4 separate regions of the Homo sapiens genome follow, and all the other regions are linked to region 2. The links are contacts of gene promoters, found by promoter capture Hi-C in blood cells and fetal thymus (Javierre and others, 2016). All regions are on one chromosome and are shown on one strand. The core of a region is centred on a gene start or on the middle of the fragment in contact, and the rest is flanking DNA. Distances in the headings are between cores, read along the strand shown.

Region 1 (5,971 bases), core at 510-3,009, 1.1 Mb before region 2:
GTGTCAGCTCCGGCCCGGGAACGTGGGCTAGGCAGGAAAGACGCACTGAATGGAAAGGTTGGCGCCAGAGGCAGCAGGTCTCTCCTGCCCCCTACTCCACCGGCGCGGGGAGGAGCGTGTGAAGCACGGGCCATTGGGGTTGGGTTCCTTTCTGGAGGACCTCAGGGATAAGGACACGTCCTACTGAAACTGGGGGCCGGGTACGTGGGCCATGGGGCCCATCTTGGGGTGGGGTCTTGGGGAGACAGAACTGGCACAGGAGATACACAGCACGCCGCGATCGTTAGCAAAAGTCGTAAGTTTCCCTCGTTCCGGACGCACCTCTTCAAATCATTTCCAAAAGAGGTGGCAAGTTTTCCATCCTCCGCCCCAATTCTTCATCTTCCTCTTAATTGGCTGGGGTTCGGGTAGGCCCGGCCCAAGATCGCTTGTTGATTGGCTGCGTTGGTAATCTATCACAGGATGACGCACGCGAGGGGTGGTATTTGGGGGAGGAAGTGAGGATTATTTTGGTACCTCCTACCCCAACTACTGATTGGCTGAGATTTGCAGTGATGTAAAACAAGACATAAAAATGTCCACTAAAGGGAAGGGTCTGTTTGCCATTCTCTCTGGGCCGGGGGGACTCTGTTAATGTAGAGAAGGACCAAACTGATTGAAACACGGAAATGAGTTTAGAAAGGAACTGAAGGAAAACGAGGGAAATCCGCGACACCTTCGTTGCCTTCAAACAAGGTCATTTCCTGCACGGGATCGATGGTTTCCTGTTTACTGCCTCCGAAGTCTGCGTGTACACTGGCTTTCTGGAATCTGCATGATAATTAAATTCTTATGAGCCTTTGGTCCCAGACTTCCCATTTGTTTACGTTACATAAGAGAATGAATGACACGGAGGAAAGGAAAAGGGTTTCACCCTGCCTTTAGACAAGGACAGGGAAAACTAAGTTTCTCTAATATTAGAAAGCTGAAGACTGACCCTGGATCACAGTATTCAAGCAGTTGGGTTAGAAACCATTCGTATAATAGTTGGAGAGAGTAGATGCAGGTGAAAAGAACTGTAAAGATTTCTCTGAATGAAGGGCATTAATCACATACAGAAGCCTTCCTCGTTAGAGAACTACATCTTTTTTTATTTTTTTTATTCATTTTTTTTCTTTAGACAGGGTCTCGGTCCATCACCCAGGCTGAAGCGTGATTTCGGCTCACTGCACTCTCCGGGATTCAAACGATTCTCCTGCCTCAGACTCCCGAGTAGCTGGGACTACAGGCGCCCGCCACCACGCCCAGCTAATGTTTTTTGTATTTTTAGTAGAGACGGGGTTTCACCATGTTGGCCAGGCTGGTCTCGAACTTCTGACCTCAAATGATCCGCCCACCGCAGCCTTCCAAAATGTTGGGATTACAGGCGTGAGCCACCGCGCCTTGCTGAGAACTACATCTTATCTCTGGTGCCCGGCAGTGTCGGATACATAGTAGGTAGTCAACTGATGATGTGAACCAAACCAGAGGGAGAAGACTTTTATAAAGTACACTGCTGGGCACGGTGGCTCACGCCTGTAATCCTAGCACTTTGAGAGGCCAAGGCGGGCGGATCACCTGAGGTCAGGATTTCGAGACCAGCCTGTCCAACATGGTGAAACCCAGTCTCTGCTAAAAAATGCAAAAATTAGCCGGAAATCGCTTAAACTAGGGAGGCGAGGTTGCGGTGAGCCGAGATGTTGCCACTGCATTCCAGCCTGGGCAACACAGCGAGACTCCGTCTCATAAATAAAAAAATAATGCTGGAAAAATCCTAAAAATGCGAGACTTGAAGTAGATCTGCTTCACAAACCTACCTGAGATGCTACTTCACAAACCTACCTGAGATGCTACTTCCATGAGAAAATGCTGTTTTCCTCCTAACACCTTGAGGCCTTTAAAATTTGAAAGCAGATTTCCCCTCAACCTACCTTCCTGGAAAAATTGAAAAGATAGGTGGGATTAGTGAAAAGATGTCCTCTACATTCAGTGAATGGAACATAAAGTGTTTATCCTACAATCTGAGGCAAGAGACTAGGAAGAAATTATTTGAGAGCTTGAGAGGTATCATCTATACTATGTTAGTTATGGAATCATTTGCTTCCTTAGCATGATGTACACTTTTTTTCTAGTCCGGAGTTTTTCTTTCCTTTTTTTTTTAAGACAGAGTCTTGCTCTGTCTGGAGTGCAGTGGCGTGATCTTGGCTCACTGCAACCTCTGCCTCCTGGCTTCAAGCGATTCTCCTGCCTCAGCCTCCCAAGTAGCTGGGACTACAGGTATGCCACCACACCCAACTAATTTTTTTGTATCTTTAGTAGAGGCGGGTGTTCACCATGTTGGCCAGGATAGTCTCGATCTCTTGACCTCGTGATCCACCCTCCTCGGCCTCCCAAAGTGCTGGGATAACAGGCATGAACCCCTGCACCCAGCCTAGTCCAGAGTTTTTCTTATACTTAGAGCTCAGCGATGCTTTAACATTGTCTAAAAACTGCTCTAAACTTGAGGACAAGAATTTCCCTTTCATATTATAACTATCCCTACCACAAGACTCTGCGGGGGCTATTGGTCAAGATTCTGCAACGGTATTTTCTGCTTATCAAAAGAGATCCTATCTTACGATTCTCTAGGGTCTTCTAGGTCAGGTGGTTTACAAAAGAGTATATACAATACTGGCTCTTTAGTATCATTGTGGCGATAGTTTAGGAACAAGGAAAGGAGCAGGAGGCAGCTATATTTGCAATAACAAAAATGCCATGGAAAAATTATTACTGGGCTGTAAATAATTCTGGCATAATAAAGTGTATATTACCTATGCCAAAAGAGAGGGGAGATGTTAATATTTTCAAGAATTGTGTTTGAGGGAAAAGTGCCCTTTGTTCCTAGTGATATTAAATAAATCATGAAAAACATACAAAAAATTATTTTTAGGCTAATAATTCATACACTTACAGCACTGTCACTTTCCCCCTGATGATGGGCAATAAGCAAAAGCAGAAATTTTTTTTAGCAAGGGGAACCTAGAGCCCAACACCAAGTCTGAAGAAGGAAAGAACTGGTATTGTCCTAACCATAGATCTAAGCCCTCCAATTTGTAAAGGGGTGGTACCTTGATTGGTAAGAACATGACATACTGAGTTACATAGAACCTGAGGCCTTAGAAAAATCCTCAATTCATGATTCCTCCTGAAGCCTGGCTGCCTGCCCTTCTTAAACAATAGTAATCATGAGTTTCTTTCATCCCTGGAAGCCCAAGAAACAAACACCAGGCCTCAAAAGACCAGGGATGAAAGCACTGGGTTGCATTGCCTTTGGCATTTATGGAAAGAAGAAAAAGAAGAAAAGGGCAGTGGGCTACTGCTCAATCAGGTATTAGATCTGTCAGGGCTGGCTGCAGTAACTAGAAACCACTTAAGTAGGAAAGGCTTTAATACTGGGGCTTAATGTGCTTACAAAATCGTTGGAAGTACTGGAGAAAGGGGGTTTCTGCTGTATATCAGAAATGGCTCCAAGAATGAGGCTGCTAAATTCACCCACCAGGAAAGCTTTAGAAAGATGAGAAATCAAGACTGTATTGCTGCAGCTGTTGAGTTCAGGAACACATGCCCCTGTACTGACATGAGTATGGAAAGAAAAAAAATTAAAAATAAAGAAAAAAAGGAGAACTTACTGCCCTAGTTGTGATCAAGGAATTGGGCAGCTACTGTTGCTAACACAGCCTCAGCACCTTTCAACAGCCATGAAACGCCGGGCACAGTGGCTCACACCTGTAATCCCAGCACTTTGGGAGGCCGAGGCAGGTGGATCACCTGAGGTCAGGAGTTCGAGACCAGCCTGGCCAACATGGTAAAACCCCATCTCCACTAAAAATACAAAAATTAGCCGGGTGTGGTGGCGGGCACCTGTAATCCCAGCTACTTGGGAGGCTGAGGCAGGAGAATCGCTTGAACCTGGGAGGCAGAGGTTACAGTGAGCTGAGATCGTGTCACTGCACTCCACACTCCAGCCTGGGTGACAAAGCGAGACTCCTTCTCAAAAACAAAAACAAACAAAAAAAAACAGCCGTGGAACTAGTGAATAGACATTGGAACACTGCTGCAGAAAAACCCAGCATTCCCATGACTCTGCTGACCAGCAGCAACAGCCAAAGCGGCCAGCAGCTGACCCCAGCCTGGCTTCCACTTTTCAAGTTTCTTATGTGTGCAAATTATTGATAGATCCACAATTTACAACTAGAATCCTAGTTGCGAAAAAATCTGGAAAGTATAGTTTTTGGTTTTCCAGTCTCTGCAGAGGAAGGTATATAAAGGAAATAGAACATGGGTCACCTATATCCACTACAAGAATATATGGATCTACATTTAAAAGATTTCCCTCCAGGGCGTGGTGGCTCATGTCTGTAGTCCTAGCTACTCAGAAGACTGAAGTGGGAGGATTGCTTGAGCCTGGGAGGTCGAGGCTGCAGTGGAGCTGTGTATGTTCCACTGCACTCCACCCTGGGTGACAAAGTGGACCCTATGTCAATAAATAAATAAGCCGGGCCAGGTGGCTTACAGTGGTGTGGTCCCAGCTACACAGGAGGCTGAGGTGGAAGGATCACTACTGCACTCCAGCCTGGGCAACAGAGCAAGGCCTTGGCTCAAAAAAAAAGAAAAAAAGAAAAAAAAACCCCACAGATTTTCTTAGTAACAAATAAAATGTAGAATGAAACAAAAGGATGTTGAACCAGAAGCAGCATAAGAATGAAGCAAAAGTCTGTTCTAAACTTTTTCATTTTATAAACCAGTGGGGAAATATGAGAGAGCACAGAACTTTTTATATTTTCAGGTAAAGACATTAATTACCAACTAAAGTCTACTATGCCCATCATTTTATAAAAGAATCAACATTTTAATATTAATTAAAACCTTCCACCAGAAAGACAGGAAGGTTATAGTCTCAGGGCTGGGTGCAGTGGCTCATGCCCATAATCCCAGCACTTTGGGAGGGTGAGGATTGCTTGAGCTCAGCAATTCGAGACCAGCCTACGAAACATGGCGAGACTTGTCTTTACAAAAAAATACAATTTAACAAAAAAATTAGCTAGGTGTGGTGGTGATGCCTGTCGTTCCGGCTACTTGGCCAACTTGGGTAGGAGGATCGCTTCAGCCCAGAAGTTCACACCACTGCACTCCAGCCTGGGCGACAGAGCAATACTGCCCCCCCAAAAAATTTAAAATTAAAAAAGGAAAGTTTCAGTCTCAGAATTTAATAACTAAATACATTTAACATCAAGAAAAGTACTACTTTGTCCTGTCCTTTCTGAGTGAACACTTTGGCCAGTATGACAGGGCTCTGAAGCCACTGAGGTAATGTGAGATCTCTGCCATAGTAAGGAGAAAGCTTAGCTTCTTGTCCAGCCTGCTTCGGACTTACTGAACAATTCTGAACAAGTCACTTGACCACTGGGCCTTCATTTATAACTAATTAAAATTAGTACTACAAGTAAATATTAATATTTAAGAGGGAAGGGGCCAGGCGCAGTGGCTCATGCCTGTAATCCCAGCACTTTGGGAGGCCAAGGTGGGTGGATCACCTGAGGTCAGGAGTTCAAGTCCAGCCTGATCAAGATGGTGAAACCTCGTCTTTACCAAAAATACAAAAATAAACCGGGCGTGATGGCAGTGCCTGTAATCCCAGCTACTCGTGAGGCTGAGGCTGGAGAATCGCTTGAACCCGGGAGGTGGAGATTGCAGTGAGCCGAGACCACGCCATTGTACTCCAGCCTGGGTGACAGAGCGAGACTCCTTCCCAAACAAACAAACAAACAAACAAAGAAATTATGGGCCAGGCACGGTGGTTTACACCTGTAATCCCAGCACTTTGGGAGGCTGAAGCGGACGGATCACGAGGTCAGGAGTTCAAGACCAGCCTGGCAAACATGGTGAAACCCTGTCTCTACTAAAAAATACAAAA
Region 2 (6,079 bases), core at 804-3,303:
AAAAATAATTCTGGAGTAAGCAGGGCAGGATGGGAATGACTGACAGACACTATCCTAACAACTCTCTGTACACTGGAAAAGACATCAGAAGTTTGATGTTAAAGAAGTGGACTACATCTGTAGCAGCTAAAAGAAATAATTCCAAGTTGCAATTTGGAGTCCCAAGGAGCATTAGGGTGGTCAGTAAAAAGTCTAAAAACAAACTGTTATATACAAATACAAGTTTTGGAAGGTTAAGTTTTTATGTATCACTGGAATGTATATGTCTAGCAACATTCTTGAGATATATGGCTCCAAAAAGTCTGCGAAAAAAGGGATGTAGATTTTGAAATTGAATAGTTGAAGTAATGTCACAGAGAGCACAAAGAACAAATGACCAAGAACTAAGTCCATGAGACACCCTTAGTTATAGAAGAAAAAAACCTTCTTGAATGAATAATACAGTTTCAACCCATTAGTAGGATATAATCATGTTTTCTATTCTTTTAATAGATTACAGGCGCAGGCCTGTAATCCCAGCTACTCTGGAGGCTGAGGCAGGAGAATCGATTGAACCCGGGAGGCGGAGGCTGCAGTGAGCCAAGATCGTGCCACTGCACTCCAGCCTGGTAGAGACTGAGACTCCATCTCAAAAAAAAAAAAAAAAAAAAGTGTATTTAGAACGAAGATTAAAATCCTGGCCTGACTTCTAAACCAATGCGATTTCTTCTGGGCCTATTCAATTAGTTCTAACGGGTAAGAGAAAGGAGGAGGAAGAACACTGCCCAAGGCTTTAAGATAGAGAACTGCTGGTTCTATTACATGTGGGGAAAGAGATGAATGATAGATAAAAATGCAGATGTAAAAGTTTTAAATAATAACCAGGTCTGGACAGTGTATCATAGGTGGATATTAGAGAGAGGTGACTATGGATACTAATGAATTGAAACACGAAGCCCTTACAAAAAGTGTGGGCAGACTAGGCTACATAACTACGTTTCTCATCTGCCCAGTAACTTGTCTTGGGATGTGGAATGACGCAAGGAACGAAACTTTCCTCTGCTTAGACTACTATACCACAGAATCCTGGTAAACCAATTGGAAGCAAGGAGGTGAGGGCTAGAATATCATTCAAAAAGAGCAAAAGAAAATGAGTACTACCGGCCGGGCACAGTGGCTCACGCCTCTAATCCCAACACTTTGGGAGGCCGAGGCGGGCGGATCACTTGAGGTCAGGAGTTCGAGACCAGCGTGGCCAACATGGTGAAACCCCATCTGAACTAAAAATACAAAAAAATTAGCCGGGCGTGGTGGCACCTGCCTGTAGTCCCAGCTACTCCAGAGGCTGAGTCAGGAGAACTGTTTGAAGGCGGGAGGCAGAAGTTGCAGTGAGCCGAGGTCGCGCAACTGCACTCCAGCCTGGGCGACAGAGCGAGACTCCGTCTCAAAAAAAAAAAAAAAAAGAAAGAAAAATGAGTACTACCATCCCAGGATGTCAAATCAACGCAAAGCCAACCAAGCCACCTTCCTTCAAAAGCATCTTTCACCCCTCTCTGCTTTCTACATCCACTCTGGGCCCCTTACCCTCATTCCACGGAGTCCCAACCTATCGATTTACTACTTCTCCACTTCCTGTCCCAAACTACCTTGACTGTCTCCAGACTGGCCCCTTCCAGCACCACAATAAGCCTACGGCCTCCGATCTTGTTTCCTGCCCCTAGTCGGGGCCGCTTGGGTGGCAGAGCATCCCAGTCCTGTGCCTGCTCCCCACCGCTTCGTTCACGAGGCTTGAATCCATCACTGGGCGCGGCCATCTTGCAACAATACCGGAAGTTGCGCTAACGCTCTTAAATAAGAACAGCGCGGCTTCTAATCACAAATTTCCTTCCGGCTGCCATTTTGAAAGTGGGCCAGGAAATGGAGATGACTTGCTGTCTTGCGCTGCCCTCCCTGGGAGGGCAGCCTTCCAGAAAGGGGCGGGACTTCCGTATGCGCGATTCCTGTGCGCGAAGTTCGGGTCCGTAGTGGGCTAAGGGGGAGGGTTTCAAAGGGAGCGCACTTCCGCTGCCCTTTCTTTCGCCAGCCTTACGGGCCCGAACCCTCGTGTGAAGGGTGCAGTACCTAAGCCGGAGCGGGGTAGAGGCGGGCCGGCACCCCCTTCTGACCTCCAGTGCCGCCGGCCTCAAGATCAGACATGGCCCAGAACTTGAAGGACTTGGCGGGACGGCTGCCCGCCGGGCCCCGGGGCATGGGCACGGCCCTGAAGCTGTTGCTGGGGGCCGGCGCCGTGGCCTACGGTGTGCGCGAATCTGTGTTCACCGGTGAGCAACCTCCGCCTGCTCGCCGGACGCTTCCAGTCCCTCCCCCAAACCCCTTGCCCTGTCCCCGCGCCCCTCCACGGGCCTAGCATTTCCTCTGAGCAGCGGCCTGGCCTGATCACCACCCATCTCCCCACAGTGGAAGGCGGGCACAGAGCCATCTTCTTCAATCGGATCGGTGGAGTGCAGCAGGACACTATCCTGGCCGAGGGCCTTCACTTCAGGTAATGGCGGGCAGAGCCTGCTGACCCTGACCTTTCACCCTTGACGCCGACCCAGCAGTGGCTATAGTCGGACGTGCAACAGGATTCAACGCTGCTCTTTTCCCACCCTCCTCATCCCTGCCCCTAGGATAGTGGGTGCTGCGAGAACCTCCAGCAGCATACAAACTGTTGTTTTCCAGAGGGACAAGAGAATCTCTCCTTGTCTGTGGTCGTGGAGAGGAGCAGGCCAAAAAACGCGTGGTGAGGGGAAACCGGGCAAGGCTAGTGAAACTGCGGCCTTTTCTTTTTTTTTTTTTGGAGAGGGAGTCTTGCTCTGTCGCCCAGGCTGGAGTGCAGTGGCGCGATCTCGGCTCACTGCAACCTCCGCCTCCTGATTTCAAGCGATTCTCCTGCCTCAGCCTCACGAGTAGCTGGGATTACAGGCGCCCGCCACCACGCCCGGCTAATTTTTGTATTTTAGTAGAGACGGGGTTTCACTATGTAGATCAAGCTGGTCTCGAACTCCTGACCTCAAATGATCCGCCCGCCTCGGCCTCCCAAAGTGCTGGGATTACAGGCGTGAGCCACCGCGCCCGGCCGAAACTGTGGCCTCTTAATACCTATCCCTGTCCTCTCCAGGATCCCTTGGTTCCAGTACCCCATTATCTATGACATTCGGGCCAGACCTCGAAAAATCTCCTCCCCTACAGGCTCCAAAGGTAGGTCTGAGCACTTGGTAATCACATGGCAGGTGGGATGATCAAGGTAGCTGGCAAGAAACCCCAGGGGAATATGGTAGTGTCAGGCCTTTAGGCCTCTTTCCACATCTGCAAGAGCTGTAACAAAAATACCTGCCTCCTGGGGTCAAAGCAGCAAATTCTGAACACACTGTGTTTGCGTGCTTTTTACTGTCTCCTCCCTGACGTGTATTCAATAAGAGTATTGTTTGTCCCTCGTCTTGTTCACTGCCTAGATCAAAGCTTTGTTTTAAAGCCTTTTTTTTCTAACTGCTTGACTTACTATATCTACAGTTACATCCACTAGTACACTCTGTTCTGGAGAAGTTTGTCCCTAAGCTTGACTAGTTCACCTGTTCTCTCCTTCTAGACCATACATAAAAGCCGTGCCTTTGAGTTCCCCAGACCTCTTCCTCCTCCCCACCCACGCACACATATACACCCTGGGTCAGGTAGCTCACCTGTAACCTGTAATGTACTTCTTTGTGCTATACCTAGTGCAGGTCGCTTATTCATTTACTAGACTGGGCCCTGGGAATAAAAGATTCATTAAACACAATTCTTGTCCCCCAAGTCCTTACAGGAGACATGATTACGGTACAGCACGAAAGCGCCCACGTTAGAGGTTGCACAGAGTACAGAGGGGGAAAGAGTAGTCAGCTCTGCTGGTGACGGGGTTTGCAGTTCAAGGCTTCACAGTGGGTGAGGGTGCATTTCAGCTGTGCTGCGTCTTGTCTTCCTTGTCAGCCTGATTAACTCTCCTCCCCCCAGGGTAGTGCCAGGCTGTACACCATTGCACAGGGCATACAGGGAGGAACATGAAGGAGAAAATGCTTGGGAAAGGGTGTTTGGCCTTGACCAGCCACTGCTGACCTCAATCTCAGACCTACAGATGGTGAATATCTCCCTGCGAGTGTTGTCTCGACCCAATGCTCAGGAGCTTCCTAGCATGTACCAGCGCCTAGGGCTGGACTACGAGGAACGAGTGTTGCCGTCCATTGTCAACGAGGTGCTCAAGAGTGTGGTGGCCAAGTTCAATGCCTCACAGCTGATCACCCAGCGGGCCCAGGTCTGACTCCCACCACCATCTGCGTGGTGTCAGCCTTTCCTTCCTAGGCCCAGAGTATTGGGAATTAGGAAAGGCAGCTTATTAGAAAAGCATTGTCACCCTAGTGCCATTTCCACCTAAAAGCTGTGCTAATTGCCACTGTGAAATAAGGAGAGCCAGCATTAGAACTCGATAGCACTCGGTGTTAGGAAGCACAGAGGAAAATGGCCAAGTCTTGGCTTTTCCTGCACCTCTTCGAGCAGAGAGGCTTATGTTACAGGTTTGCCTGACAGGAAGCTAAGGCAGTGCATGTTGTATTGAGAGTGAAGGGTTAGGGGTCGCAACCTTCCTTTCAGCTCCCCAGTCCCCTCAAACCACCCCTCCCTTCCCCTCTTCACCCCTGCCCTCAGGTATCCCTGTTGATCCGCCGGGAGCTGACAGAGAGGGCCAAGGACTTCAGCCTCATCCTGGATGATGTGGCCATCACAGAGCTGAGCTTTAGCCGAGAGTACACAGCTGCTGTAGAAGCCAAACAAGTGGGTGAGTCGCAAGAGCCGTGGGGTGAGGGCTTCTGAGATGCAGGAGGAGGAAAGACTCCATGGGTGGGGCTCCTGACCCAGGACAGGGTCTCCCTGACTCTCTCCCACCACAGCCCAGCAGGAGGCCCAGCGGGCCCAATTCTTGGTAGAAAAAGCAAAGCAGGAACAGCGGCAGAAAATTGTGCAGGCCGAGGGTGAGGCCGAGGCTGCCAAGATGATATCCTTCTGCTGGAGAGATCTCAGCCCAGCCCCTAGGGCACCTGAGTTCCCCATTCTCCTTCATGGGCAGGCTGATGAGACTAAGGCGAATGCGACTCCGTGCTCTCTGGCCCTTGGCTCCTTGTTGGGGGTGGGGACTACAGATGAGATCTGAAATCTTAGTGGTAGTACCTGAGCCATGACTCCCCACTGTAAGGCCAGATCAATAGCATTGGTGGCCTTGCCTTCATTTCTGGTGCTGCCCCTAGTTCCTGGCAGCAGCCTGCAGGGAGGCCCACAGGTGGGGTCCACGGTAGGGCTGGGCACAAGCCACCTGAGCGCAACCTTGGATCTGACAGCCCAGAGGAGGACTGGAGCAAGGGAGTGTGGTAAGGACAGGGCCAGGGATTGAGACCTGCCCTTGCGTGTACCTTAACCCTCCTCACCTTGGAGAAGCACTGAGCAAGAACCCTGGCTACATCAAACTTCGCAAGATTCGAGCAGCCCAGAATATCTCCAAGACGGTGAGTGTGTCAGCCCAGCGTCTCTGATGGGGCTGCCTTGAGAAAGTGCTTTCAGTTAAGGCACATTGAGGTGAGGGAATTCGAACCTTGCTTGTTCCGGTTTCTACTCAGATTGGCTTCTCTGGCCGGCGCGGTGGCTCACGCATGTAATCCCCGCACTTTGGGAGGCCAAGGTGGGTGGATCACCTGAGGTCAGGAGTTCGAGACCAGCCTGGCCAACATGGTGAAACCCCATCTCTACTAAAAATACAAAAGATAATGAGCCCGCTGTGGTGGCGTTTAGCTATATTCCCAGCTACGCAGGAGGCTGAGGCAGGAGAATCACTTGAACCCAGGAGGCGGAAGTTGCAGTGAGCTGAGATCATGCCACTGCACTCCAGCCTGAGCAACAGAGCAAGACTCCGTCTCAAAAATAAATAAATAAAAAATTGGCTTCTCCGATACTCCTCCTGTCAAGAATGATTCCTCTGGGTTCCCTGACCTTTTGTTCTAATCATAGCTGCTGCTCAGCGCTCTGGATCCCTAAGTGCGAG
Region 3 (5,605 bases), core at 955-3,454, 1.1 Mb before region 2:
ATTTGCCACTTGTCTAAGATGGAAAATAATTTTGATCTAATAAGCAACTGTAATTCACATTAGTTTTTTGACATAATAATGGCTAATATTTGTTAAGTTCCGTATATGCTGGTACTGTTTTAAGAGCTTTGTGTGTCTGTTAATCTACTCCTGACAATACTATAGAGTAGGTAGAGAATATTCCCTGAATTAGTCATTTTCCAGCCAGGAAATCTAAAACCATTGTAGGTACTTCAAAAGGGATATATGAGACAAGAACTTGGGCCAGCCATCGTGGTTCACGCCTGTAATCATAGCATTTTGGGAGTTGAGGCCAGGAGTTCAAGACCAGTCTGAGCAACATAGTAAGACCCCATCTCTGCAAAACAACATTTAAAAATAGCTGGATGTGGTGGTGCATGCCTGTAGTCCCAGCCACTCGGGAGGCTGAGGCAGGAGGATCACTTGAGCCCAGGAGTTCAAGGCTGCAGTGAGCTACAATCAAGCCACTGCACTCCAGCCTGGGCAACAGAGCAAGACCCTGTCTCAAAAGAAAAAAAGAAAAGAAAAGAAAAAGAAAAACAAGACTTGGCTACAGAAGTGTCAAAAGAAGTAGAGGAATAAAAAGTGAAAAGATGATATTAGCTGTGTATCAATTACTGCAGGAGGATGCTTTCCTACAATTGGAAGAGAAAAAATGGAAAAGGATATTACCTAGAATAGGCAAGCATGCACTTGCTTTTAAGGATGGGAGTTCTTGCTGCCACTTAACAAGAATCTAAACTCACAGGCCTGCTGCTGCTGCTGCTGCTTGCTGCTGGAACCATTAATCCTGCTGGAGCCTCCAGCAGCCAGCAGCCACTGCTGCCACACCTGCCCCCTCCATTGCAGAAATCAGGTGCTAAATGATATCCCTTTCTCCCATATTGCTTTTCCTTTAACAATTTTAATGTTTATTCTATTTCATAGTCTTTGTTCTTTTATTTATTTTTATTTTTATTTATTTTTTGAGACAGGTTCTTTGTTGCCTGAGCTGGAGTACAGTGGCACTATCATAGCTCCCTACAGCCTCAACCTCCCAGGCTCAAGCCATCCTCCCGCCTCAGCCTCCCAAGTAGCTGGGTCTACAGGTGTGCACCACCATGCCCAGCTGATTTTTTGTATTTTTAGTAGAGGGGGGTTTTGCCATATTACCCAGGCTGGTCTTGAACTCCTGGGCTCAGGCAATCTGCCTGCCTTGGCCTCCCAAAATGCTGGGGTTACAGGCGTGAGTGACCGCTTTCTTTTACTTTTTTTAAAATTTTTTTATTTTTATTTTTTTGAGACGGAGTATCGGTCTGTCACCCAGGCTGGAGTGCAGTGGCGCGATCTCGGCTCACTGCAAGCTCCGCCTGCCGGGTTCACGCCATTCTCCTGCCTTAGCCTCCAGAGTAGCTGGGACTACAGGCGCCCACCACCACGCCTGGCGAATTTCTTTATGTATTTTTAGTAGAGACGGGGTTTTACTGTGTTAGCCAGGATGGTCTCGATCTCCTGACCTCATGATGCGCCCGCCTCGGCCTCCCAAAGTGCTGGGACACAGGCATGAGCCACCGCGCCCAGCCTCTTTTACTTTTAAAATAGATTTGCAATCTCTGTGCACAACCAAGTTATGAAATTAAAAGCAATAGTTCCCCTTTCTCCTTACTTTCCATTGACACATGAACATGTCCTTCCGGAAGATCCTATTCAGAACCCAGCTGGAGAGAAGGTAGAGGAGACATAGTCCATAGGTTTCTAATAGATAATAAGGAAGGGTGTGGGCGGCTTGAGTATCGATAGATGATATCTGACACAGTCCCTGTTTTGCAGATAAGAAAACGAGAACATACAGTGTGAGAAGCTTATTTTCAGTAACACAATTAGTAAGTGGCAAAGTTGAGACTTAAACCCAGGCTTTCTACCTGCCCTCCCTTAGTCCTTAGAATACCCTTTTTACTCCCACCAACGCCATGTACCTGTGCCATTTAGTTGTGTTGGGCTCACCTCCCCCTTAATATGTGCTCATGCTTTTCCCTTGAAATGCCCTCTCAGCTTCAATCTCCCTGCTCAAATGAGAGAATTATAGATTGTTAGATGTAAAAGAAACCTGAAAGACCATTTAATCCAACCTTTAATTTTCCACCTAAGAAAACAACAACAAATTTCTAGGTCAAGTATCTAGCCCAAGGTCGAGTAGTTATTACAAAACTGAAAGTCAAATGTATGTCTCCACATTCCTGGTCTAGTGCTCTATTCACCTCATGAATCTTTTCTTCCATAAAAATTTTCCAGCTAATTCTAGCCACCATCAATCAATCTTACCCTTTGCTGACCAGCCATTGCATTTGTCTGTGTCATCCACAGTTTTTGGCACTTAGTTATATTTAATTTAGAGCATAGGTTACTACAAATTATCTAATAACGGATTTAATCATTTTTTGTTGAAGTCTTTAAGGACAGTAACTTTATAATGTATTTAACTCTCTCAGAGAAAACAAGCTAGAGATCTGTGATTCTAACATTTTTATTTTGGCCAAACAAGCTTTAATACAGATCTCCATCAATTACAGTGTAGAATTAGTCAAGTGACTGGTAAAAGGTTTTAATATGGCTGCCTTTGCAACATACATTCAAATTTTCTTTTTTCCAAAGCATCTGATCTCTGCTTTTAGAAATTTATATTTAGATATTCAGAATAGAACAAAACAGAAGTGAATCACATAACTTCCTCAGAGCTTTCCACAATACACCACAAAACAACCAGTACTTTTTAAGAAGAGAGAGAGGTCATCCAGAAACAGGAGCACTATTCACAACAAGTTTTTAGTAATTTTCTTCCTGAAAAATCCAAAGAACACAGCTGGGAGCTCTTGAACCAGTTTAAATTGCTGTATAACATCCAGCTAAATTTTTATATTTTTAGTAGAGATAGGGTTTCATCACGTTGGCCAGGCTGGTCTCGAACTCCTAACCTCAGGTGATCCGCCCGCCCTGGCCTCCCAAAGTGCTGGGATTACAGGCATGAGCCACCACACCCAGCCACATTGCTGTGTAATCTTTAGAGAGAGAGAAATTAGTAAAAGTGAATTCATGCCAGAAACAACTCTAAGGACTCAAGTTAATTATTTGAATTATATTCAGATGTCAACATCCTTTTCAAACAAACATTCATTCACTTATTGGTGCCACAGACCTGTTATACCAGGCAAGGTAGCAGCCACTGGAGACAGACAAGAAATTCATGGTAGGGGAGAGAGAGAGACAAGGTATTATTTTACAGTACTATTGCCTGACAAATTTCTACCCATCCTTATGGCCCCAATGCTACCTCTTCAGTGCATCATCGTGGGTTTGCTTCCATGAGAATTAGTCTCTTACGGTTTCATATTCCCAGGGTGTATTGTGCCCTCCTAACAGCCCCTACTGTATTACAGTTATATACATCTCTCATTCCTCCTCCATCTTCCGCAGTGCAACACACTGTATCAGGAGCAGGAGCAGAAGCAGAGTATATGTTTATGGTACTGAACTTAGTGTGACAATTTGTGAAGTCTCTTTAGTGGAAAATTCTGTATCTTTCAAAATGTAAAAGTGTGTGCTCTTAGACTTAGCAATTCCAATTCTAAAACTCTATTCTACAGAAATACATGTAAATACTATAGTGCTCATTGAGTTTTGTTTATAATCATTTAAAATTGGATAAAAACAATATTCCACGAAAAATAATTAAGTAAGTGGAATAATATGGAGCAACTTAAAAAGTATAATTTGGGACCGCACGCAGTGGCTCACGCCTGTAATCCCAGGACTTTGGGAGGCCGAGGTGGGCAGATCACCTGAGAGCAGGAGTTCGAGACCAGCCTGGCCAGCATGGTGAAACCCCGTCTCTACTAAAAATACAAAAAATTAGCCAGGTGTGGTTGTGGGCACCTGTAATCCCAGCTACTTGGGAGGCTGAGGCAGGAGAATCGATTGAAGCCAGGAGGCAGAAGTTGCAGTGAGCCGAGATCGCACCATTGCACTCCAACCTGGGTGACAAGAGCAAAACTCTGTCTCAGGAAAAAAAAAAAAAAAAGTGTAATTTGGGCCAAGATGTCCTGATATAAAAAGATAAGTGGAAAAAATAGAACAAAACAATATGCGTAGTAGAATATGCGTATTTAAGAGAGAGACTACATCTGGAAAGTGGAAAGAGGATAGCTAGGTGTTTAGGAAATTTTGGTTTTTACTTTAATCTTCTCATATTTAATTTTTACCATGGGGAATTAATTGTTTTTATAAAATATATTTTAATTAGATATATATGTACATATATGATAATCCTACATTTTATATGCTTTCTGGATACCTATATTATTCAATATTTCCAAATATTGGAGGAAAGAAAACCCAAAATAATCAATAGGATTATATGTACTAACATGGAAGTATGTTTTGATATATTGTTAAGTAAAAAAGCAAGACATAAAATCACACATAAATTACCATCCCATTTATGTTCAAAACTACCTTTTAGAAAAATGTGTGTTAGGCCGGGTGGGGTGGCTCACACCGGTAATCACAGCACTTTGGGAGGCTGAGGCAGGTGGATCACCTGAGCTCAGGAGTTCAAGACCAGCCTGCCCAACATGGCAAAACCCCATCTCTACCGAAAAAATATAAAAATTAGCCGGTTGTGGTGGCACATGCCTGTAGTCCCAGCTACTAAGGAGGATGAGGTGGGAGAATTGCTTGAACCTAGGAGGCAGAGGTTGCAGTGAGCCAAGATGGTGGCACTGCACTCCAGCCTGGGCGACAGACTGAGGCCCTGTCTCCAACAAACAAAATGTGTGCTATATTCAGAAAAAAAAAAATCAGGAAGAATGAACACTAACCTATTAAAAATAGTTACTTCGAGCAGTGGAATTGAAAAGAAAATCTTTCATTTTTTTTACCCATTATAATTCTGTATTATTTCAATTTATCTCTTCTAGAACAAAGTATGTTCTATTTTTGTAATTAGATGATGACAATGGAAATAAACTAATAAATACTACTCAACTCTTGGCATTTTTCTTTTGATCTTTCTGCCTCAAAAATATTCCGTGGTGACTTGACTGCAAACAAGCAGAGGAGCAGATATTATGGTTTGGACAAGTTGATTAATATAGACTGAAGCCTATATCACAGACAACAGTGTTCAAATACATTTGACCCAAATAAACTTTATTTTATATGCATATATCTAAAAGAGTATATGCATATATCTAAAAGAATAATATAAGAATTATTTACAGCATAGTATTCATTAAGCAGGAATTACCTTCAGTCTTCTGTACTCCTTCCTGATGAAACAGCACCTAGACTCCAGCCTGTTCTCCAGTGACCACTAAGCTCTCCCACCTACCTCCCCACCTACCTGCCCTCTACCACCTACCTGCCTTTGACTAGGCTCCACTTATAGCCTAAGCAGCTTTTCACCTTTTTCTGTCTCTAGAATTCCTACAGGTACTTAATTAAGTACTTGCCCACATCTTATTTCTATCTTAAGACTCTCCTAGATTGCCCTGGGTTATATATACCCCTGGCTAGAGTGTTCTATTATTTTACTTCTATTGTTACTTCT
Region 4 (5,951 bases), core at 3,005-5,504, 1.1 Mb before region 2:
GGATACTAAACAAGAGTTAAGTGCTTTCAACCTCTCTGCTCTACAGATCAGGTTAAAAACTCTAAACCCTTCAACTTTAGGTCAAAGAACAGGGCAAATACAAATTAATGCCATGCTTCAAATGCAGCAACCAGATGGAGCTGCAAGAAATTAAACACTCCTATAGACTATCACTTGGAAAGCACAGCCTCTTGAACCTCCTTCATTACAGATACACCCACTGATCAAAGATGTTAACACAATTCAAACTCAACAAACAGAAAAGAGTAGTGGAGGTGCCACCAACACAACCCTCTTATCATAGAAAGAGACATGTAAACACACAAGAGGGTGATGGAGCTGCACCCAGCACTGGATGTTCACTGAGCACAATAAGCCTGAAGGAGACTACACAGCAGAGACCCAGGAAATAGGTCTTTCTCCATATCTACCCCTATCAAAATTCTGAATTTGTAAACACTGAGGTCAGCCTGTCCATTTTTAGTCCTGGGTTAGTGGAGAAGGAAGTTGCAAGGTTTTTGACTCCCCTGAAATTGCTAAATAGGGCTTCACAAAGAGGCACACAAGGGTCATGAGATGATTTTGAAATAAGTTAAAGAAATTAAAAGATGAGACAAATTTTACAGATGTTAGAGGTCATTCCCCCTCAAACAGACGCTGGCCTTTTAAGCCCTGCATAGTCAGCCAAAACTATGATAAGATCCACTAGTCCCCTACCTTGGTACTACGCAGGAGATAACAGATACTTTCTTGGCTGTACAAGTAACAACACAGGGGAGTGACATAAACCAGCTTGAATGTGATGGAGAAGCTATGAAAAAGATTGTCCAGTCATTCTGGTTCTGGGGAGGAAATGGGTTCCTAACTTCCCTCACAGATTGGTGCCCTCAAGGTCATTTTTATTCCTCAAGTCTGTCCTTAATGTCCTGCCAATGCCATTCAGAACTGGACCCAGTTGGATGGCTGTGGTGCCTGGTTTGGAACAGAGCTGCAAGACAGGAGAACAGAGAAAGCCAGAGACATAATATTAGGATAACAACTCCATTCTTTACTTAATAGTTTCTAAGAAATCACTGCCTAGAATTTCCAAAACCACACTTCATGGCAATTCTACTTACAAAGGCCTGAAATATCCCACTCAAACCTCATCCTACAGCTTTTTTGTCCCCCCATTCCCAGCACTACTATATTTCCTTCACTAGAACTCTTCCAAAAGACTCTATGTGACCTGCATATCCATTGCTTCTCCAGATCAAAGATTTCAATTGACTGTACATATCTCCTACACCCTGATTGAGAGTATGCTAGTTTCACTATGCCCATTACCTGGAGGCAGTGCTGAAGTCTCCCCACAAGTCATTGCTTACAGAAACTGGAGTTGGTGCTGGTGTCGTGACAGGAGCAGGAGAATCCAAATCTAAAAGGATATCTAAACACAAGGTAAGAAAAGAAAAAAGAAAAACATAATCAAAATCTTGGAAGGGCCGGGCGCGGTGGCTCACGCCTGTAATCCCAGCACTTTGGGAGGCCGAGGCGGGTGGATCATGAGGTCAGGAGATCGAGACCATCCTGGCTAACAAGGTGAAACCCCGTCTCTACTAAAAATACAAAAAATTAGCCGGGCGCGGTGGCGGGCGCCTGTAGTCCCAGCTACTCGGGAGGCTGAGGCAGGAGAATGGCGTGAACCCGGGAAGCGGAGCTTGCAGTGAGCCGAGATTGCGCCACTGCAGTCCGCAGTCCGGCCTGGGCGACAGAGCGAGACTCCGTCTCAAAAAAAAAAAAAAAAAAAAAAAATCTTGGAGATGAGAATTTATGTTTGCACAAAAATCTGTATACAAATGCCACGGCAGCTTTATTCATAATGGTCAAAAACTGTAAACAACCTAGATGTCATTCCATGGGCAATAGTTACACACACTGGTATATCCATACCATGGAATACTATTCAGCAATAAAAAGAAACAGACTATTGACACACAACTTGAATGAATCTCAAGGGAATTATGCTGAGTGGGAAAAGCCTGTCCCAAAGGTTACATGCTGTATGATTCCTTTCATAGAACATTCCTGAAGTGACAAAATTATAAAGATGGAGAACAGACTGGTGATTGCCAAGCGTTAGGAATGGGGGAAGAAAGGATGAGAGGGAGATGGGTGTGGTTGTGTAAGGTTGACACAGGGGATCTTTGTAGTGATTAAACTGTTCTATAACCTGAAATGATGGTGGATCCATGAACCTACACATGACAAAACTGCAAAGAACTGGCCAGATGCAGTGGCTCACACCTGTAATCCCAGCATTTTAGGGGGCCAAGGCAGGAGGATCACTGAAGTCCAGAAGTTCAAGGCCAGCCTGGGCAACGTAGTGAGACTCTGTTGCTACAAAAATTAAAAAATTAGCTTGGTGTGGCAGTGTGCACCTGTAGTCCCAGATGTTTGGGAGGCTGACGCAGAAGGATCTCTTGAGCCCAGGAGTTTGAGGCTGCAGTGAGCTATGACTGCACCACTGTACTCTAGCCTGGGCAACAGTGTGAGACCCTATCTCAAAAAATAACAAAAAATCCTGCATAGAACTAAATATACAGATCCACACAAATATACACAGATGAGAACATGTAAAATGGTGTAAGCTGAGTAAGATGAGAAAGTGGTATCAACATCAATTTTTCATTTGTGATACTTGACAATAGTTCCACAAAATATTACCAATTGAGGGAAACTGGGAAAAGGGTAAACAGGATCTCTTCATATTATTTCTTACAACTGCATGTTAATCTACGATTATCTCAAAATAATAATTTAATTTAAAAAAAATCTTAGATACTATCCCCAGTGGCTTCTGGCAACACTTACCAAAAGAAGCAGGCTATAATATTTTCACCTCAAAAATTCCAGAAAGAGAAAGCTTACCCTTAGTAATCAATTCAACAAATTATCTGCACTGTCCAATACATTAAGTTAAAATTCTCAGATTCTAAGACACAGTTCTCTAATCTCAGAAAAATTCTTTTCTCAGTTCCAATGCTCTCATTTTTCAAATGAGAAGATATAACCATATTTATTCTTTCTCCCACCAAACAGAAAGAAAGAATGAAAGTGTATGGACAAACCTAGATATCTTCTTTTCTCCCAATTGCTCTTGTGAAGAAATGGGAAAGTTTAATAACATTTACTAAATGCCTACTATGTTCCAAGTGCTATGCTAGGTGCTGTCAATCATTTAACCCTCATGACCTTGGGGTGGTAATTATTTTATTTTATCTATTTATTTATTTATTTATTTTTGTTTGTTTCTTTGTTTTTTTATGAGACAAGGTCCCACTCTGTCACCCACACTGGAGTACAGTGGCACAATCATGGTTCACTGCAGCCTCCCAGACTCAAGCCATCCTCCCACCTCAGCCTCCCAAATAGCTGGGTCTACAGGCGTGCACCACCACGTCCAACTAATGTTTGTATTTTTTTTGTAGAGATGGGATTTCATCATGTTGCCCAGGCTGATCTCAAACTCCTAAGCTTAAGCAATCCACCCACCTCAGCCTCCCAAAGTGCTGGGATTACAGGCATGAGCCAAGGTCCCCGCTGGGGTGGTTTTACATCTCCAGTTTGTAGATAAGGCAATTGAAACTCAAAAAACTTAAGTAATGTTTACCAAGCACATTCAAATATAAAGTAGCAGAGCCATGACCAAAATCTTGGTCCATCTGACTCAAAAGCTTATAAGCATCTAACCAAGAAAAAAATGAAGGAAATTGTCATTTTAATAAGCAAATATTTTCTGCCAAAGAACCTATGAGATACTATGACTCTTAGTTCACTAGAAAAGCTTTGATTCCTTGCTAGAAGCTGACAGAATCACCTTGTCAGTACCATGAGCTATTTCATAGCAAAAACATTAACTCTCCTTGACAAACAGGTGTTGCTTAATTAAAACATAAGATTGGATTTCTCAAAATTAGAAGTACTAGATTTACCTGCATCACTGCCTCCATGGTTAGATTTCGGAATGGGTGGTGGGGTGACATGATTGCTGATGGCAACTGAGGAGGATGGTGGGGGAATAGTGACTTTGCCTCCTGGCGGGGGTGGGAGTAAGCTCAGACCCCCACCCCTTGCAGTCCTGGGCTTAGAAGCACCTCCTTTCTTGTTTGTAATGTTCTACAAAAGAAAAAAAGAAGAGCAAGAGAAAGATGTCATAGGCTTATGGAAGCACAGGAAAACAAAATTTTTAAAAACCATACTCACCCCGATACACAACTTGATGGTTTGTCCTTCCTTGAAGCCCAGATCCAACTTAGGACGAGCATCCATTTCTTGAGATTCCTTGGAAATCTCAGATTCCTGCTTTACCCACCTTTGGGAACACAGCAAGTTATCTTAGTTTGAGATTTCCTGAAAGCAGAGTCTGACATACAAATTTGGGTGTATTTACTTTTATGAAATGAGATTCCAGAAAACACAGTGAGAGATAAAAAAGAGTGAGAAACAGAAGGGAAAAAAGCCAAGAAAGAAAACAACTGGGGTTCAATTCCACTGGGGACTCTCTGAGAAATCTCACGGAATACGTATTAGAATTGCCCCTTCCAGAAGGATGGTATTTAGCCACCAATTCCCATTCCCCACAGTTGAGGGCTGCTCCTGAGGGGGTGTTAGTTTCTTAGTCTTTCCAAGTTAAAGCTTGCTCTTAGCTTTCTATAACTTCAGAGAGTCCTAAGGCAGAAAAGGAGAGATATGCTTGCTCTTGAGGTAGGAAGCTGACAGTGTGCACAGTGCTGTCAACCACAGCTGCACCAAAATCAAGTGGGCTAAAGAAATGTTGCAAAAGTCACAAAACATGTCAGCTACATAAGGTAACAAGAGTGGCACACGACTCCCCACATAAAGCCCTGCTGTTACCATAGGCCTCCCTCTACCACCTAAAAGACGGGGCAAATTCGACAGAGCATCATTTCAAACTACTGCACAAGGGATCTGAAATATATTGCAGGCTATAAGGAAAGGAAACAGAATAGATACAAAGATGACCTAAGGAAACAAAAGTGAATGGGGAGATTTATATTCACAATGAAATAGTTTAAGAAACAAAGAAACCAGGAGGAAAAGAGATACTGCCCATTCATGTGAGAAGCAGCATTCCTATAAGCATTCAGCCTCGTAACTAAGGACAAGCTTCACTCACTTGAAGTGATCCTGCAAGGAGACATTAAAGTCGAAGGCATCTCCCCGATCTGTGAAGCCAATGCCAATGAAAGCACTGCGCCCTGTGGAAAACGTAGGAAGACTCGACTAGGAAGTATCCTCTATGGCAGGAGCCCCCAACCCCCGGCACCAGTCTGTGGCCTGTTAGAAACCAGGCCATGCAGCAGGAGGTGAGTTGCACACGAGAGAGCAAAGCTTCATTGTATTTACAGCCGCTCCCCGTCACTTGCATGACCACCTGAGCTCCGCCTCCTGTCAGATCAGTGGCAGCATTAGATTCTCAGAGGGGTGTGAACCCTACTGTGAACTGCACATGTGAGGGATCTAGGTTATGAGCTCCCTATGAGAATCTGATGCCTGATGATCTGTCACTGTCTCCCATCACCCCCGTCTAGTTGCAGGAAAACAAGCCCAAGGCTCCCGCTGATTCTACATTATAGTGAGTTGTATAATTATTTCATTATACATTACAATGTAATAATAATAGAAATAAAGTGTACAATAAATGTGATGCACTTGAATCATCCTGAAACCATCCCCTAATGCCGGTCTGTGGAAAACTGTCTTCCACAAAACGGGTCCCTGGTGCCAAAAAGGTTGAGGACTGCTGCTCTATGGCAAATTTTGCCCAATGAAAATATAACAGTCACCCTAACTAGACAAAGTCTGAATGTGAAATATCTTCTCATAGACCAAGAGTCGATAAACTACATAGAGCCCATGGGCTTTATCCTGCCATAGCCTGGTTTTGT

The links. Contacts are between HindIII fragments. The CHiCAGO score rates a contact against its expected background, and 5 or more counts as called.
Region 1: a contact is called between a fragment that was not itself captured here and the fragment with the promoter of PHB2 in region 2, in 5 of 17 cell types (activated CD4 T cells, naive CD4 T cells, naive CD8 T cells and 2 more). The highest score is 7.6, in activated CD4 T cells.
Region 3: a fragment that was not itself captured here is called in contact with the fragment with the promoter of PHB2 in region 2 in 2 of 17 cell types (total CD8 T cells and naive CD8 T cells); the score reaches 6.1 in total CD8 T cells.
Region 4: a contact is called between a fragment that was not itself captured here and the fragment with the promoter of PHB2 in region 2, in 1 of 17 cell types (activated CD4 T cells). The highest score is 5.5, in activated CD4 T cells.

Annotation. Positions count from the first base shown.
Region 1 is chr12:8,021,199-8,027,169 of GRCh38, reverse strand. No RefSeq gene overlaps it. Among named protein-coding and RNA genes, the nearest start is that of FOXJ2, 8.5 kb to the left of the region's middle. RefSeq lists an enhancer at 165-354. The HindIII fragment of the contact is 3,609 bases long and covers 1-3,563 here.
Region 2 is chr12:6,966,638-6,972,716 of GRCh38, reverse strand. It overlaps PHB2 (prohibitin 2), which reads left to right and starts at 2,053. Exons shown (of 10, transcript NM_001144831.2): 1 at 2,053-2,300; 2 at 2,437-2,521; 3 at 3,140-3,219; 4 at 4,122-4,306; 5 at 4,696-4,825; 6 at 4,938-5,041; 7 at 5,469-5,546. The coding sequence starts at 2,174. EMG1 (EMG1 N1-specific pseudouridine methyltransferase) reads right to left here and starts at 1,804. Exons shown (of 6, transcript NM_006331.8): 1 at 1,626-1,804. The coding sequence starts at 1,793. It also overlaps SCARNA12. RefSeq lists enhancers at 1,497-1,616, 1,667-1,846, 1,937-2,006, 1,527-2,129, 5,154-5,654. The HindIII fragment of the contact is 5,065 bases long and covers 1-3,482 here.
Region 3 is chr12:8,066,886-8,072,490 of GRCh38, reverse strand. No RefSeq gene overlaps it. Among named protein-coding and RNA genes, the nearest start is that of C3AR1, 3.3 kb to the right of the region's middle. The HindIII fragment of the contact is 681 bases long and covers 1,864-2,544 here.
Region 4 is chr12:8,091,079-8,097,029 of GRCh38, reverse strand. It overlaps NECAP1 (NECAP endocytosis associated 1), which reads right to left. Exons shown (of 8, transcript NM_015509.4): 4 at 5,180-5,261; 5 at 4,246-4,354; 6 at 3,975-4,158; 7 at 1,327-1,429; 8 at 1-988. The coding sequence ends at 940. Among named protein-coding and RNA genes, the nearest start is that of NECAP1, 12 kb to the right of the region's middle. The HindIII fragment of the contact is 851 bases long and covers 3,829-4,679 here.